Linked DNA regions of Homo sapiens: regions 1, 2 and 4 are each linked to region 3. Evidence: promoter capture Hi-C in human tissues and cell types (Jung and others, 2019). All regions are on one chromosome and are shown on one strand. The core of a region is centred on a gene start or on the middle of the fragment in contact, and the rest is flanking DNA. Distances in the headings are between cores, read along the strand shown.

Region 1 (3,521 bases), core at 695-3,194, 140 kb before region 3:
AAAAACAAAGTGTATTTTCTCCCAAAGTATTTTCTATGCTCTTGCATACATGTGTATTTTTATACTTTATATAGATAAACAGGATCACGTACATTATGTGTTAGTTTTTTTGTTCGTTTGTTTGTTTTTTGAGATGGAGTCTCGCTCTGTCACCCAGGCTGGAGTGCAGTGGCGCGATCTCAGCTCACTGCAAGCTCTGCTTCCCAGGTTCCCGCCATTCTCCTGCCTCAGCCTCCCGAGTAGCTGGGACTACAGGCACCTGCCACCACGCCTGGCTAATTTTTCTTTGTTTTTGTATTTTTGTAGAGATGGGGTTTCACCGTGTTAGCCAGGATGGTCTCAATCTCCTGACCTTGTGATCCGCCCACCTTGGCCTCCCAAAGTGCTGGTATTACAGGCGTGAGCCACCGCGCCTGGCCTTATGTGTTAGTTTTAAAATCATGTTTTGTTGGTGACATTTTTCTTCAATAAATTTTATTCAAAAGATAGCAGCAGAAAACTTAACGTCACTGACTTTAATACCTAATAAGGCATTCCAACTAAATAAGAAAACCCCAAATTCTTTACAGTCCTCAGAGTTCTGAAAATATGCAGCATTTACATATTTCTGTTTTAATGGGTGTTACAGGTAAACGAGGGAAATTTATGGATATCTTAGATGTGACGGAGCGATGTCGATTCAGTCTAAAAAAATGCACAGGAATTCAAGAAGACCTAAATAAATGGGAAGGCATCCCATGTCTGTGGATCATAAGACTTAATACTGTTAAGATGGCAGTATTCTCCAAATTGATTTGCAGATTTAGTGCAATCCCTATCAAAGCCCCCAGTTGTTTTTTTCTGTAGAAATTGACAGGCTGATCCCAAAATTCATATGGAAATTCATATGGAGAACTGATACACTTCCTGATTTCAAAACTTACTGCAAAACACAGTAATCAAGACAGTGTGCTACTGGCATAAGAATAGACATATAGGTCAGTGGAATAGAAGTGAGAGTCAGTAAATAAACCCGTGTATCTATGGTCAACTGATTTTTGGCAAGGATGCCAGGACCATTCACTGGGGAAAGAATAGTCTTTTCAGCAAATGAATCTGGGACAACTGAATAGCCACATACAAAAAGATGAAAAAATTAACTCAAAATGGCTGGGTGCAGTGGTTCGCGCCTGTAATCCCAGCACTTTGGGAGGCCAAGGCCTGTGGATTGCCTGAGCTCCGGAGCAAGACCAGCCTGGGCAACATGGCAAAACCCCATCTCTACCGAAAATACAAAAAAATTAATCTGGGCGTGGTGGCATGTGCCTGTGGTCCCAGCTACTCAGGAGGCTGAGTGGGAGGACTGCTTGAGCCTGGGAGGTGGAAATTGCAGTGAGCAGAGATTGCACCACTGCACTCCATCTGGGGTGACAGAGTGAGACCTTGTCTCAAAAGGAAAAAAAAATTCAAAATGGATTGAAGAACTCAATTAAAAGCTAAAACTTTAATACTCTTAGAAAACATAGAAGTAAATCTTTGCAATCTTATGTTAGGCAAAGCTTCTTAGACATGACACCAAAAGCACAAGCAACAAAAGAAAAAAGTAAGTGGATTCCATCAAGATTAGAAACTTGTGCTACAAAGCAAACCATCAAAAAAGTGAAAAGGCAAGCCACAGAATGAGAGAAGGTATTTGCAAATCATACATCTGATAAGGGACTTAAAACTAGAATATATGAAGAACTCTTATAACTCAATAATGAAAAGATAAATAGCCTAGTTTAAAAAATGGACAAAGGATCTGAATAGACATTTCTCTAAAGAAGATATACAGATGGCAATAAGCACATGGAATGATAGATGCTTGACATCATTAGTCAGTAGAAAAATGCAAATCAAAATTACATTGAAACAACTTCATGCTAACTAGGATGGCTGTAGTTAAAAAGTCAGATAATAAGTGTTGGTGAGGATTCCACTCCTTAGTGAAAATGAAAACATGCATCTATACAAAAACTTGAACACAAATCTTCATAGTGGTATTGTTCACTATAGCCAGTAAGTAGAAACAATCCAAATGTCCAGCTGATGATGAATAAATACAGTGTGGTGGATCCACACAGTAGAAGAGAAAGGAGTGAAGTACTGATAATGCTACAACATGGATGAATCTTGGAAACATGTCTGTGAAGGAAGGCAGCCACAGAAGACACATATTGTATGATTCTGTTTACGTGAAATGTCTAGAATAGGCAAATCCATAGAGACAAAAATTAGAATTAGTGGATTACTGATTGCCTAGGGCTAGAGGAGTTGGGAGAATAAAGAAGGAAGGAATACTAACTCACTGGAATTTCTTTTTGAGGTTATAAAAATATTTTCAAATTGGATGGTGGTAATGGTTAATTTCCACCATTATAATACTAAAACCATTGAGTTATACACTTTAAATGAGCAAATTGTATGGTGTGTGAATTATAGGTTAATAAAGCTGCTTAAGTACATATATATGTATAGCAATAATCATTTATTGGATTTCAGTTCAACAGACACTCCTATGAGAAGCCCTTTGAGATACGCCAGACAAGAGAGATGAGGGTCTGCCCTTGAAATCTGAAAACTGATAGATCAGAAATCTGGTAGACAGTAGGTGATTATAATGAGATGTTCTGTAACTGAGATGGAGAAAAAGATGGTGTACAAATGCAAAGGAGAGAGGTGGGCTAGCGCTGGCTGGGACTGGGAGGCAGCAGGAAGAAGGTGGTATCTGTGCCGGCCCTCGAGGTTGGGTAGCTTTTCTTGCGGGAGGCCAGTGGCTCTATTGGACATAGGGTATCATAGGCAGAGAGTACAGAAATAAAATAAGAAGGAAGGGACTACTACCGAAAGCACTGAGTCTTCCTCCCTGTGGCTGCAGCATTGGATGAGTAATAGGGAGTCATCGACACTAAGCTAAAAAGGTTGGTTGCAAGTAGATCGTGGGGAACCTTCTAGAACTGTGTGTAAAAAGCGGTGGGTTTTGTCACGGTGGGTGAACACGGTGGCCAATGTCCAGTGAGATGTAAAGGACAGCTTCCTTCATCAGATATTGTGTGGATTGGACTCTGTCCCCTCTTAGGATCCTTCTGATACAGGTTTATGTCTTTTCCACATGGGATGGAACCAGCTCCTTTACCTGGATCAGTGCAACCAAGAGTCAGGTGGGCACAAAACGAATAAAGCTATGTTTAGGATGGCTGTACTACTTCTTTGGCACTTAATGATTGTCTTGAAAATTTGCAGTGAATATTTTTATGTCTCCTCGTGTTTTTTTTTTCTTTTGGTTATCATCATAGCCCTGTTATGGCAGATTGCTTTTGTTTTTGGAGAGACATTCTCAATCAATATTTTAAGCATATAACATTTCTGGGAAGAATTGGCTCTTATTTTTGCTTGAAAGTGTTCATCTTTAAGAATAAAACAAATAGAACCAGACTACTCTCTCTGTTGTCTCTTCCCAGTTTATGGACTTGTCTTTAAGGCCATTCTGTTCACCTACTCAC
Region 2 (3,393 bases), core at 23-2,522, 220 kb after region 3:
TGAGGCGGTACTGACGGGTGAAGCGCATGCCACACTCATCGCAGGCGAAGGGCTTCAGGCCCAGGTGGCTCCGCATGTGACGCGTCATGGTGCCGCGCTGCGTGAACATTTTGCCACAGATGTTGCAGGGGAAGGGCCGTGTCAGCCAGTGCGTCTTCTCGTGCTGCCGCAGCGTGGCTGGGTCCTTGTAGGTCTTCTCGCAGACCGAACACTTGAAGGGCCGGGGCTCAGCCGTGTAGGCCGCACTGGGTGCTGACAGGTCCTCGGCCTCCTCCTCGGCACCCCCACTGCCTGTCTCGTAGGCCCCCTCTTCCTTGATGAACAGCTCTTCCTCCGTGTGAGTCTCCACGTGCGCATTGAGCTGCTCAGAGCTGGGGAAGCCCTTGGCGCAGGGAATGCACACATACAAGTTGTCCCCGTAGGACACCGTCTCGTAGCCCTCCTGCCGGTACATGTAGTGGGCGCTGGCATGGCCGCTGCCCCCCTCGCTCCCGCTCTGCGCACTGTCTTCACTTGCATCCTTGCCGTTCTCCTCCTCCTCCTTGCAGGGGTAGGGGGGCTCCCCATAGGGCCCGCTAGGGCCAGCCCCACTAGCCAGGATGCCATTGGGAACCCTGTCCCCGACCCCCTCACCCTCCTCTCCCGGGCAGGGACCCTTGGGCCCTGCTTCTCTCCGCTCAAAGGGGGAGCCAGCCACAGGCTCCTTCTTGCCCCACTCCTTCTTCCGAGTGGAGTGCCGGAGGCTCTTCCGAGGCTGCCCACCAGGCGCCTCCAGCAGGCTCAGGTGGTTGTCCTCGGCCCCCTCCAGATCCATGGGCTCATCAGGGGTGCCCCCCAGCTCAGAATAAGAGGCACTGTTGGCAACGGGAGGAGCAGAGGCCGCAGGGGGCGAGCCATGTTGGCTGTCGCTCAGCTGGGCTGCGTCATCGGGAGTGAGGTGGGGACCTGGGGTGGCAGGGGGCAAGGGTGGGCTTTTCTTGGACAGGTCCAAGCCCAGCTCCTGCTCGCAGCCCCCGCTGCTCCCGTTGGTGCTGCTGCTGCAGCCCCCCAGACCCGCCTCCCCGCCAGCTGGGCAGACAGCCCGGCCCAGACCTTGCACGCTATCCTGGTTAGAGCCACCAAGAAAGAGTTCATCGTCTGAGCCTTTGGCTTGGGGGAGCTCCTGGGGGGCGTGGGCCCCCTTGCGCCCATCCACGAGCCCCTGATACCGAGCTTGGATGACAGAGGCCGTGGACAGCCGCTGGCTGCGGGGGGGCCGCCCCATGCCAGTGGACCCCGCCCTCCCAGAGCCAAAGGGCTTGCCGGCTCGCTTGAGTTTGCGGCGGCAGAGGGCTGCCAACTCGGGCAGCTGGAGGTAGCTGGCGGCAGTGAGGAGGGTGCTGAAGTTGGGCTCGGCTGGCTGGTCGCTGGGCAGCAGCTTGCCTGTGTAGATGAAGTCCAAGATCTGCTGGAACACTGTGGAGCTGACCATGTCTGTGTCCAGGTTGATGAGGTTGTCGTGCAGGACCAGGGACTTGAAATAGATGCTGCTGGCGGCTAGGACGTTCTTGTGGGCCCGGAAGATGGAGTTCTCCACCATGATGATGACGTCACACAGGAAGCCCTTGGTCCTCTGCTGGTTCAGCTGCAGCAGGAGCTGCTTCGAGTGGCTGGGCAGCTCCATGTCGGGCCCCATGTCCCCGCGCCCTGCCCACGCGCACCACCTGTGGGCAAGAACAGGCACGCATGCGTCAGATGACTGGCACACTCGGACCAGGGCTCTGGGGCAGGGTGGGGCTCGACGAGGCAAAGGGCCTCAGAACTGACCCCACATAGGGCAGGAGCCCCTGCGGCACAGTACACGGCACATAAGCCCACAATGCCCACCACATGCAGGCGCAGTACACGTGTCACCTCACTGAGGACTCAAACTGAGAAGGGACAGAGGCCCCTGCCCCATTTGCACTAATGAGAAAATGGAGGTGGAGGGTGATGAGGGGACAAATAGAGAAACTGGGATTTGCATTTGGTTTCACAGCCCGGGCTACTGTCTCTACACTAAATGAAGTCAACCCTCAGGGACCAGAAGGGGACCCAAAAATGACCAGATGGCTTTAAACTTCGGGAAGCAGAGGACTCCGTGAGAGGAGCTTGTCTTGAAAGCTGGCAAAAATCCCCCAAAACTAAATGGTGGTTCCTTTTGAAATACGGCAGGGCCCAAATCAAACTGCCAGCAGTCATGTTGCTGCCTCCCAGATGCTGCAGTCAGCCTGCAGCCAGCCCTGCCTCTCCCCAAGGCCCTGGGCTGCCTCGCACTCTGGGCGGGCGCCAAGTGCTGCCCCAGCCTGGGCTTCCAGCTGCCAAGGAGGAAAGGTAGCTTAGGCCAAGCACCTGGCACCACCTGAACCCTCCGTCCTCTCTAGGAAGGGCAGCACCATCTGGGCCTAGGAAAGGTGGACAGCTGGCCTCCATCACACAGAATGGCACAGGCACTAACTGAGATCAGTAAGCAAGAAGCACACTGACGCCGCTGGTCTCTGCAGGAACTCTGACGGCCCAGGTGTGTTCCTGCTTATGCAGCAGCAAGACATGGGGTTCTGAGCGGGTGCTCCTCGCCACGCTTCCCATCCCCACTGAGCAGCCTCCTCTGCCATGGACCAGGCACCCCACAGTGGGAGTACAAGGGCAGGGCAAATGGGTGCACAGTGGGCACCAGATAGACGCCGGGGGGAGGAGGGAAATGTCCCTCCAAGGGCGGAGGCAAGGACTGTGGCCGGCGGTATAAAGAATGACTCTGGAAGGCTTTGAATGACTCAAAGCCATCCTCAGCCCTAAGCCCAACTCCCCAGTACAAAACGCAGTACTCCCAGCTCCATCCTCTCACCCCTACCAGAGTCCCTCAGAGAATGGCTCAGCAGGAGGGTGCTGGGGAAGGCATGCCAGTGTCCAGGTGGCCACCTGTGCCCCGGATAGGCTCACAGGCTTCCACAGGGCAGGGGGCCAGTGAAAACATGAACTTTCCTCATGGCTGACGGACAACCGAGCAGCGGGGCCCACAGGCAGCTCTGAGCCTCGCAGTTCAGGGTCCAGTCTCTCAGCAGCTGAACTACTCTGAGCCCACCGCCCTCTGGGATCTACTGCCCCTCCCAGAGTGTCCAGCCCTGCCTCCCAGAGCAGAGGCCTGGAAAGGGTCCCACCCTACCCAACCTTCTCATGACAGAAACTCTCCCCAGCCTCATGCCTACCCTTGTTTGCAAAGACAAAGAAAAACCCTAACATTCACAGGCCCCTGAAGGTGCCAGAGCTCAATGTGAACACGCAAGGGTGCAACACAGCCTGGAACACCGCTGGCACTCAGAGCCTAACAGCAAGAGGCAGCAAGCACCCGCCAGCGGCTCTCTGCCTAGCAGCCCA
Region 3 (3,269 bases), core at 471-2,970:
TAAGTAAGCCACTAACTACACAAGACTGGGGAAAGCAGCTTATAGATGACTGGGAAATTATATCACCCACAGAGAATGTTTATGGAAAAGAAACGTATGAGATCTGAGAGAAGGGAGGAGGGTCCAGAAAGGAGACTGGGAAAAGAAAGACCGCTGAAGTCGATGGAAAACAAAGAGCATGTGAAATCCCAGATACCAAAGAAGGGCTTCAGAAGGAGGGAGTGGTCAACAGTGGGACATACTGTTGAGAAGCCCAACAAAATGAGGACTGAGGCTGCCCAGACGCGGTGGCTCACGCCTGTAATCCCAGGACTTTGGGAGGCCGAGGCAGGTGGATCACCTGAGGTCAGGAGTTCGAGACCAGCCTGACCAACATGGAGAAACCCCTTCTCTACTAAAAATACAAAATTAGCTGGGCATGGTGGCGTATGCCTGTAATCCCAGCTACTCGGGAGGCTGAGGCAGGAAAATCTCTTGAAGCCGGGAAGCGGAGGTTGCGGTGAGCCAAGATCTCACCATTGCACTCTAGCTTGGGCAACAAGAGCGAAACTGCGTCTCAAAAAAAAAAAAAAAAAAAAATGAGGACTGAGGATTGAATACTATATTTAGCAACAAGAAGTCGCTGGGAACCTGAAAAGAGAGGCCGCTGAAGTCGAGAGAAAACAAAGAGCAGGTGAAATCCCAGATACCAAAGGAGGGCTTCAGAAAGAGGGAGTGGTCAACGGTGTGACATACTGTTGAGAAGCCCAACAGTTCTGGGGTCGAAATTCTGACTTGAGTGGTTTCAAGAGACTCAGAAAACAGCATGAAGCCACTAGTCTCTCACTTGTTCTTAAGAGAAACAACACGGCGGCAGCGGGAGGGGAACGTGGGACGTGGGGCACGGGGCACGGGTGGATTTTTAAATTTTATTTATTATTTTTGAGACAGCGTCTCGCTCTGTCGCCCAGGCTGGAGTGCAGTGACACGATCTCGGCTCACCGCAACCTCCGCCTCCCGGGTTCAAGCGATTCCCCTGCCTCAGCCTCCCAAATAGCTAGGATTACAGGCGCCCGTCACCACGCCCCGCTAATTTTTGTATTTTTAGTAGAGACGGGGTTTCACCGTATTAGCCAGGCTGGTCTTGAACTCCTGACCTCAGGTGATCCGCCCGCCTCGGCCTCCCAAAGTGCTGTGATTACAGGTGAGCCACTGCGCCCGACCTGGTTTGCTTTAAATTAGAAGGCTCTGCAGCACGTTTGCAGGCTGATAGGCATGAACCAGAACACAGCGAGACGTGAAGTACGGAAGAGGTAGAGACTACTCATTCAAGGGCGAAACTCGCGAACAGACGGGGGACGGTCCGGGCAGAACCAGAGTAAGGAAAACCGGGCTGCGCTCGAGCCCGCAGCTGACGTCATCGGAGCCGCGGCCCCGGGAGAGCGCGGCGGCCCGAGGGTCATTACCCTGACTGGAGACAGGGCGGCAGCTTCCGGGAGGAAGTGACCTTTGGGCTGTGCTCTGGGGAGTAGCTGAGAGGGAAGGCGAGCGGCGCGCAGTGCGGGACAGGCGGTTCACTGAGGCAGAGTGGAGCGCCGCTCCCGACTGCGGCTCAACTTACATTTTGTCCTTTTGGTGCTGTCGCTTCCCCATGGCGGAGCGGCGGCGGCGACTAGCGAGCACGAAAAAACAACGGCTGACAACTCAGACCATGGAGCCGCAGCCGAGTTCCGTGACCACTTCCGGGTTCCGCGGCGCGCCCCGGAAACGGGCGCCTGGCGTGCTGGGAATTGTGGTTCGCTAGCGCCAGGTGCTCATGCTCGGAAGGATCGCCTGCCCAGTATGGGGTCCTAGCTAGGTGTGCCATCTCCCGCAGGCGTCTTTTCGGGGCCGAGCTCCCTCAGCCTCGAAGCCCCATCTTCTTGAGGGGTCTGTCTGGACCGCCTTGTCTACCCCCCTAGCCACGGCTCAGGGCCATTCCCATACTGGGTTCTCAGGTCTTATTTATTTATTTTCGAGACAGGGTCTCGCTCTGTCGCCCAGGTTGGAGTGCAGTGGCACAATCACAGCTCACTACTGCCTCGACCTCCCAGGCTCAAGCGATTCTCCCACCTCAGCCTCCCGAGTAGCTACGGGCACGCACCACCACACCCGGCTAATTTGTTAATTTTTTGTAGAGACAGGCTCTTACAATGTTGCCCAGGCTGGTCTGGAGCTCTTGAGCTCAAGCAGTCCTCCCGCCTTGGCCTCCCAAAGTGCTGGGATTACAGGCCTGAGGCTTCGCGCCCGGCCAGCGCTCAGGTCTTTTTCAACGTCCTCCTAGAGCTTCAAGTCTCATGAGCCTCCACCCCATCCCTTCCCGCCTCCGTGGCAGATGCCTTCAAAGCCATGTACCACTCTCGTTCTACTCGCTCACTTCTCATTCTCTCTGCATATTCGGTCCCCACCGCCTCCAGGCCCCTCGGAGGCCCAGCAGCAGGTGGCCATCAAGCCTAGAGGTCCAAAGCCCTACCTGATCCCTTCCGTCTCTTCTGCCAGACCCTTCCCTTGGGTCAGATCAGTACCTTGGGCCCCTAGCTACACTCAGGCCCAGGGTAATCTTGCCTAGGCTCCTAATTTTAAATGCCATTTGTATCCCATGACTCCCAGTACTAAGTCACCAGCACTCCAGGTTCCTGATCTCCACTTGGGTAACCACTGATCTGAAATGTAACATGTCTGGATGGGCGTGGTGGCTCACGCCTGTAATCCCAGCACTTTGTGTGTGTGTGTGTGTGTGTGTGTGTGTGTGTGTTTAGTAGAGACGGGGTTTCACCATGTTAGCCAGGATGGTCTCGATCTCCTGACCTCCTGATTCGCCTGCCTTGGCCTTCCAAAGTTCCGGGATTACAGGCGTGAGCCACCACGCCCGGCCAATCCCAGCACTTTGAGAGGCTGAGGCAGGCGGATCACTTGAGGTCAGGAGTTCAAGACTAACCTGGCCAACATGGCAAAACCCCATCTCTACTAAAAATACAAAAAATTAGCCTGGTGTGGTGGCACACACCTGTAATTCCAGCTACTTGGGAGGCCGAGACAGTAGCTTGAACTGGGGAGGCAGAGGTTGCCGTGAGCCAAGATTAGGCCACTGCATCCCAGCCTGGGTGACAGAGTGACTCTGCCTAAAAAAATTAAATTAACATGTCTGGTCAAAGTAGAATTTTCTTTTTTTTTTTCTTTTTTTTTTTGACATGGAGTTTTGCTCTTGTTGCCCAGGCTGGAGTGCAATGGTGTGATCTTGGCTCACTGCA
Region 4 (3,257 bases), core at 758-3,257, 200 kb before region 3:
CGCCTCCCAAAGTGCTGGGATTACAGGCGTGAGCCACCGCGCCCGGCCGGTTATTGTGGTTTTAATTTCATGGTACTCCATTTATCTTGGCCTGTTTTTTAAAAAAATATGCAATGTCCTCTTTTGAGAATAAGAATTAGGTATTTTCTTTTTATTATTATTATTATACTTTAAGTTTTAGGGTACATGTGCACAATGTGCTGGTTAGTTACATATGTATACATGTGCCATGCTGGTGTGCTGCACCCATTAACTCAAGAATTAGGTATTTTCTAAAATTGGGTCCTGCTTCATGGGCTAAATATATTTTGAAGGAGTAAATTTTGGCTGGAGCAGTTTATTCCTTTTCTCATGTGTCACATCCTTTTTCCCCCACAGGATTTTTTGTTTGTTTGTTTCTCTGTTTTAGAGACAGGGTATTGCTGTGTTGCCCAGGCTAGTCTTGAATTCTTGGGCCCAAGTTGGGATTACAGGCGTGAGCCACCACACCAGCTTCCACCAGAGAGTTAAACAAACAAACAAACAAAAAACTTTGTTTATTCTCCTTTGAGATTGACTAATTAATCTTTGTTGATGTCTAGAAGTCAAGAGTTGATGGTTTTAAACTTGGAAGAGTTGAACAAAGAGGATATAGGGTCTGCCGCTCTTCCTTCTCCCTCCAAACATGGCAGGGGAAAAGGTTCAGAAGCAGTGCCTGGGTCATTGTCCGTCTCGTTGTCTTAGCTTTCCTTGGTATCCACCTGCTTCAGGACTCTAATTTTTATTTTTTCAACCTCTGTTGTTTGTGACTGTTTCTTAACCTGGTGTGTCTCTTTTTCTCTAAACCTCGATGTTTTGGTTTTAGTGACTCTATCTTTGCATTTCTATTTCATTACCTGCTCTGTCAGCATTTCTGCCTATCTGTACCAATCTCGGTCTGTCTCTGAACGCAAATGTATCTCTCATGTGTTTCGACCCACCACCCCCTAATCCCTTACTCTCTGCTTTGTCCTCCTGCCTCAGCCTCCCAAGTAGCTGGGATGACAGGCGCCCACCACTGCGCCCGGCTAATTTTTGTATTTTTAGTAGAGACAGGGTTTCGCCATGTTGGCCAGGCTGGTCTTGAACTCCTGACCTCGTGATCCGCCCGCCTCGGCCTCCCAAAGTGCTAGGATTACAGGCGTGAGCCACCTCGCCCGGACTTAATTTTTGTATTTTTAGTAGAGACCTGGTCTCAAACTCCTGACCTCAAGTGATCCGCCCGCCTCGGCCTCCCAAAGTGCTGGGATGATAGGCGTGAGACACCGCGCCCTCCCTTCTGCTTTGTACTTCTTCATCGTACTTATCACAACTTGAGCATTACACGTATTTGTCTGTCTCCTCTCTCTAAAAGGTAACTTCTATAAGGGTGGATCCCCAGGAACATGGAGTGTGCTCAACAAACATCTGAACTAACCTGATTGGCGTATCCTCTCAGTGTCTCCTTTTAGTCTCGACAATTGTGTTTCACACTTTCTCAGTATGCAAATATCTTTCTCGGTCTGGGTCATGCCTTTCGGTTTCTGCCCCAGTGCAGAGGCCTCTAAGTTTATCAGCGTGTGGACCACAGATTCGCAGAGGCCTGAGCTGCGGCGCTGCCGGGATATGGCGCGTCGTCGGGCCTCAAGCACAGCCCGGGGTCCCTCGCTGGCTCTGTTCGGACCCTGCTCGGTCGCTCGCCTGGGCCCCAGCCATCTCTCACTTCAGCCCATGAGTTCTGCCCCACGTCTGTCTCCCTGGGTGTCTTAAGAGACGCGACCCGCACCGACGCCCCCGCGAATGCACCGCGAATGCACGTGACCGCGCCTAGTGGCGCCCCCTCAGTCAACGCCGTCGCAGTGCCCCTCCCGAAGCCCGCCGCTTCCGCCGGCCCGCGCGGCCCCGCCCCCAGCCGCGAGGAACCAATCCGCATGCACACTTCTTGTCCCCGCCCCGGCACCCTCCTCGGCGCGCGCCCCTCCCTCCGCCCGCCCGCCGGCCCGCCCGTCAGTCTGGCAGGCAGGCAGGCAATCGGTCCGAGTGGCTGTCGGCTCTTCAGCTCTCCCGCTCGGCGTCTTCCTTCCTCCTCCCGGTCAGCGTCGGCGGCTGCACCGGCGGCGGCGCAGTCCCTGCGGGAGGGGCGACAAGAGCTGAGCGGCGGCCGCCGAGCGTCGAGCTCAGCGCGGCGGAGGCGGCGGCGGCCCGGCAGCCAACATGGCGGCGGCGGCGGCGGCGGGCGCGGGCCCGGAGATGGTCCGCGGGCAGGTGTTCGACGTGGGGCCGCGCTACACCAACCTCTCGTACATCGGCGAGGGCGCCTACGGCATGGTGTGGTGAGTGTCCGCGACCGGCCACGCCCGGCCCCCCCACCGCCCGGGGCCGCAGCGGACGCAGCCTCGGCCTCGCCCGCGCCTCGGCCTCAGGCGCCGCGGCGACCTCGAACCCGGACTTCACCGCGGTCCGCGCGCCAGGGCTCGGGCGCGGCCCCGGGCCGGTTGAGGTTTAGGTGTTGTTGCTCGCGGTTCCCGGGCCTTCGGTCGCTCGGGAAGGGGCTCAGGGAGTGGCGCGGGGGGCGTAGGCCGGTACTAGTGGACCCTTGGCCCCGGGCGCAGCGCGGCCTTTAAAGTCTGGACCCTCGGGAAGGCAACGGAAGGGTCCCCACCCCTCAATTTGCTAGTATCATGGCCTTCTTTTGGACTTTCGATTGTAAAACTGTGAATTCCATCAGATGCTTGTCGGTGTTGGCGGCGGTGGCTGCTGAGGTCCTGAAAGCGTTTTGCCTCCGCGTGTGTGCAGAACACCGAAATAATCGTTTTTCTCTCTTCGCCTCTGTTTGCAGCCAACGGCTTTCATTAAATATCCTCAGCGGTGCTAATGGTGGTCTCCGCGCAGGCTTTCTAAAATGGATTACTGACGCCAGTGTTGGTGGCATATTTCCGTCTTGAAGTTTTTACTTCTAAGTGGATTTTAATATCGTACTGCTGGCGTTTCAGGAAGGATAAACTAACATTACTCTCTTGATTTGTTAAAGATCCGTTTAGAGTTGGGCCTAATTTGACTTTTTTTTTAGCCCCCAAGTGAGCTCTTTTACCAGCATAAATGCTCCCAGATGTTTTAGCCCAATTGCTATGGACTCCTGTTAATGATTTAGTGGTCATTATGTATGCAGCCTTAATGGAGTTCTTGCAGAATCACACGTAGACTCCCTCATCTTGATTCAGGTCCCTTAGAAAAGTGAAATGATAGTGACGGTTTTTTTT

The links. Contacts are between HindIII fragments. The study calls those that stand out against the background at their distance.
Region 1: a fragment that was not itself captured here is called in contact with the fragment with the promoter of PPIL2 in region 3 in 1 of the 25 tissues and cell types used here (dorsolateral prefrontal cortex).
Region 2: a contact is called between a fragment that was not itself captured here and the fragment with the promoter of PPIL2 in region 3, in 3 of the 25 tissues and cell types used here (H1 embryonic stem cells, IMR-90 fibroblasts and dorsolateral prefrontal cortex).
Region 4: the fragment with the promoter of MAPK1 here is called in contact with the fragment with the promoter of PPIL2 in region 3 in 2 of the 25 tissues and cell types used here (IMR-90 fibroblasts and psoas muscle).

What each region holds. Positions count from the first base shown.
Region 1 is chr22:21,801,687-21,805,207 of GRCh38, reverse strand. All of the region lies in intron 3 of MAPK1 (mitogen-activated protein kinase 1), which reads left to right. Among named protein-coding and RNA genes, the nearest start is that of MAPK1, 64 kb to the left of the region's middle. The HindIII fragment of the contact is 6,513 bases long and covers 1-3,521 here.
Region 2 is chr22:21,443,232-21,446,624 of GRCh38, reverse strand. HIC2 (HIC ZBTB transcriptional repressor 2) reads right to left here. Exons shown (of 3, transcript NM_015094.3): 3 at 1-1,703. Among named protein-coding and RNA genes, the nearest start is that of TMEM191C, 22 kb to the left of the region's middle. The HindIII fragment of the contact is 7,132 bases long and covers 1-3,393 here.
Region 3 is chr22:21,664,463-21,667,731 of GRCh38, reverse strand. PPIL2 (peptidylprolyl isomerase like 2) reads right to left here and starts at 1,720. Exons shown (of 20, transcript NM_014337.4): 1 at 1,601-1,720. The coding sequence starts at 1,632. RefSeq lists enhancers at 1,284-1,333, 1,404-1,643, 878-1,788. The HindIII fragment of the contact is 22,549 bases long and covers 1-3,269 here.
Region 4 is chr22:21,866,395-21,869,651 of GRCh38, reverse strand. It overlaps MAPK1 (mitogen-activated protein kinase 1), which reads left to right and starts at 2,007. Exons shown (of 9, transcript NM_002745.5): 1 at 2,007-2,330. The coding sequence starts at 2,212. RefSeq lists a silencer at 1,837-2,076. The HindIII fragment of the contact is 55,514 bases long and covers 1-3,257 here.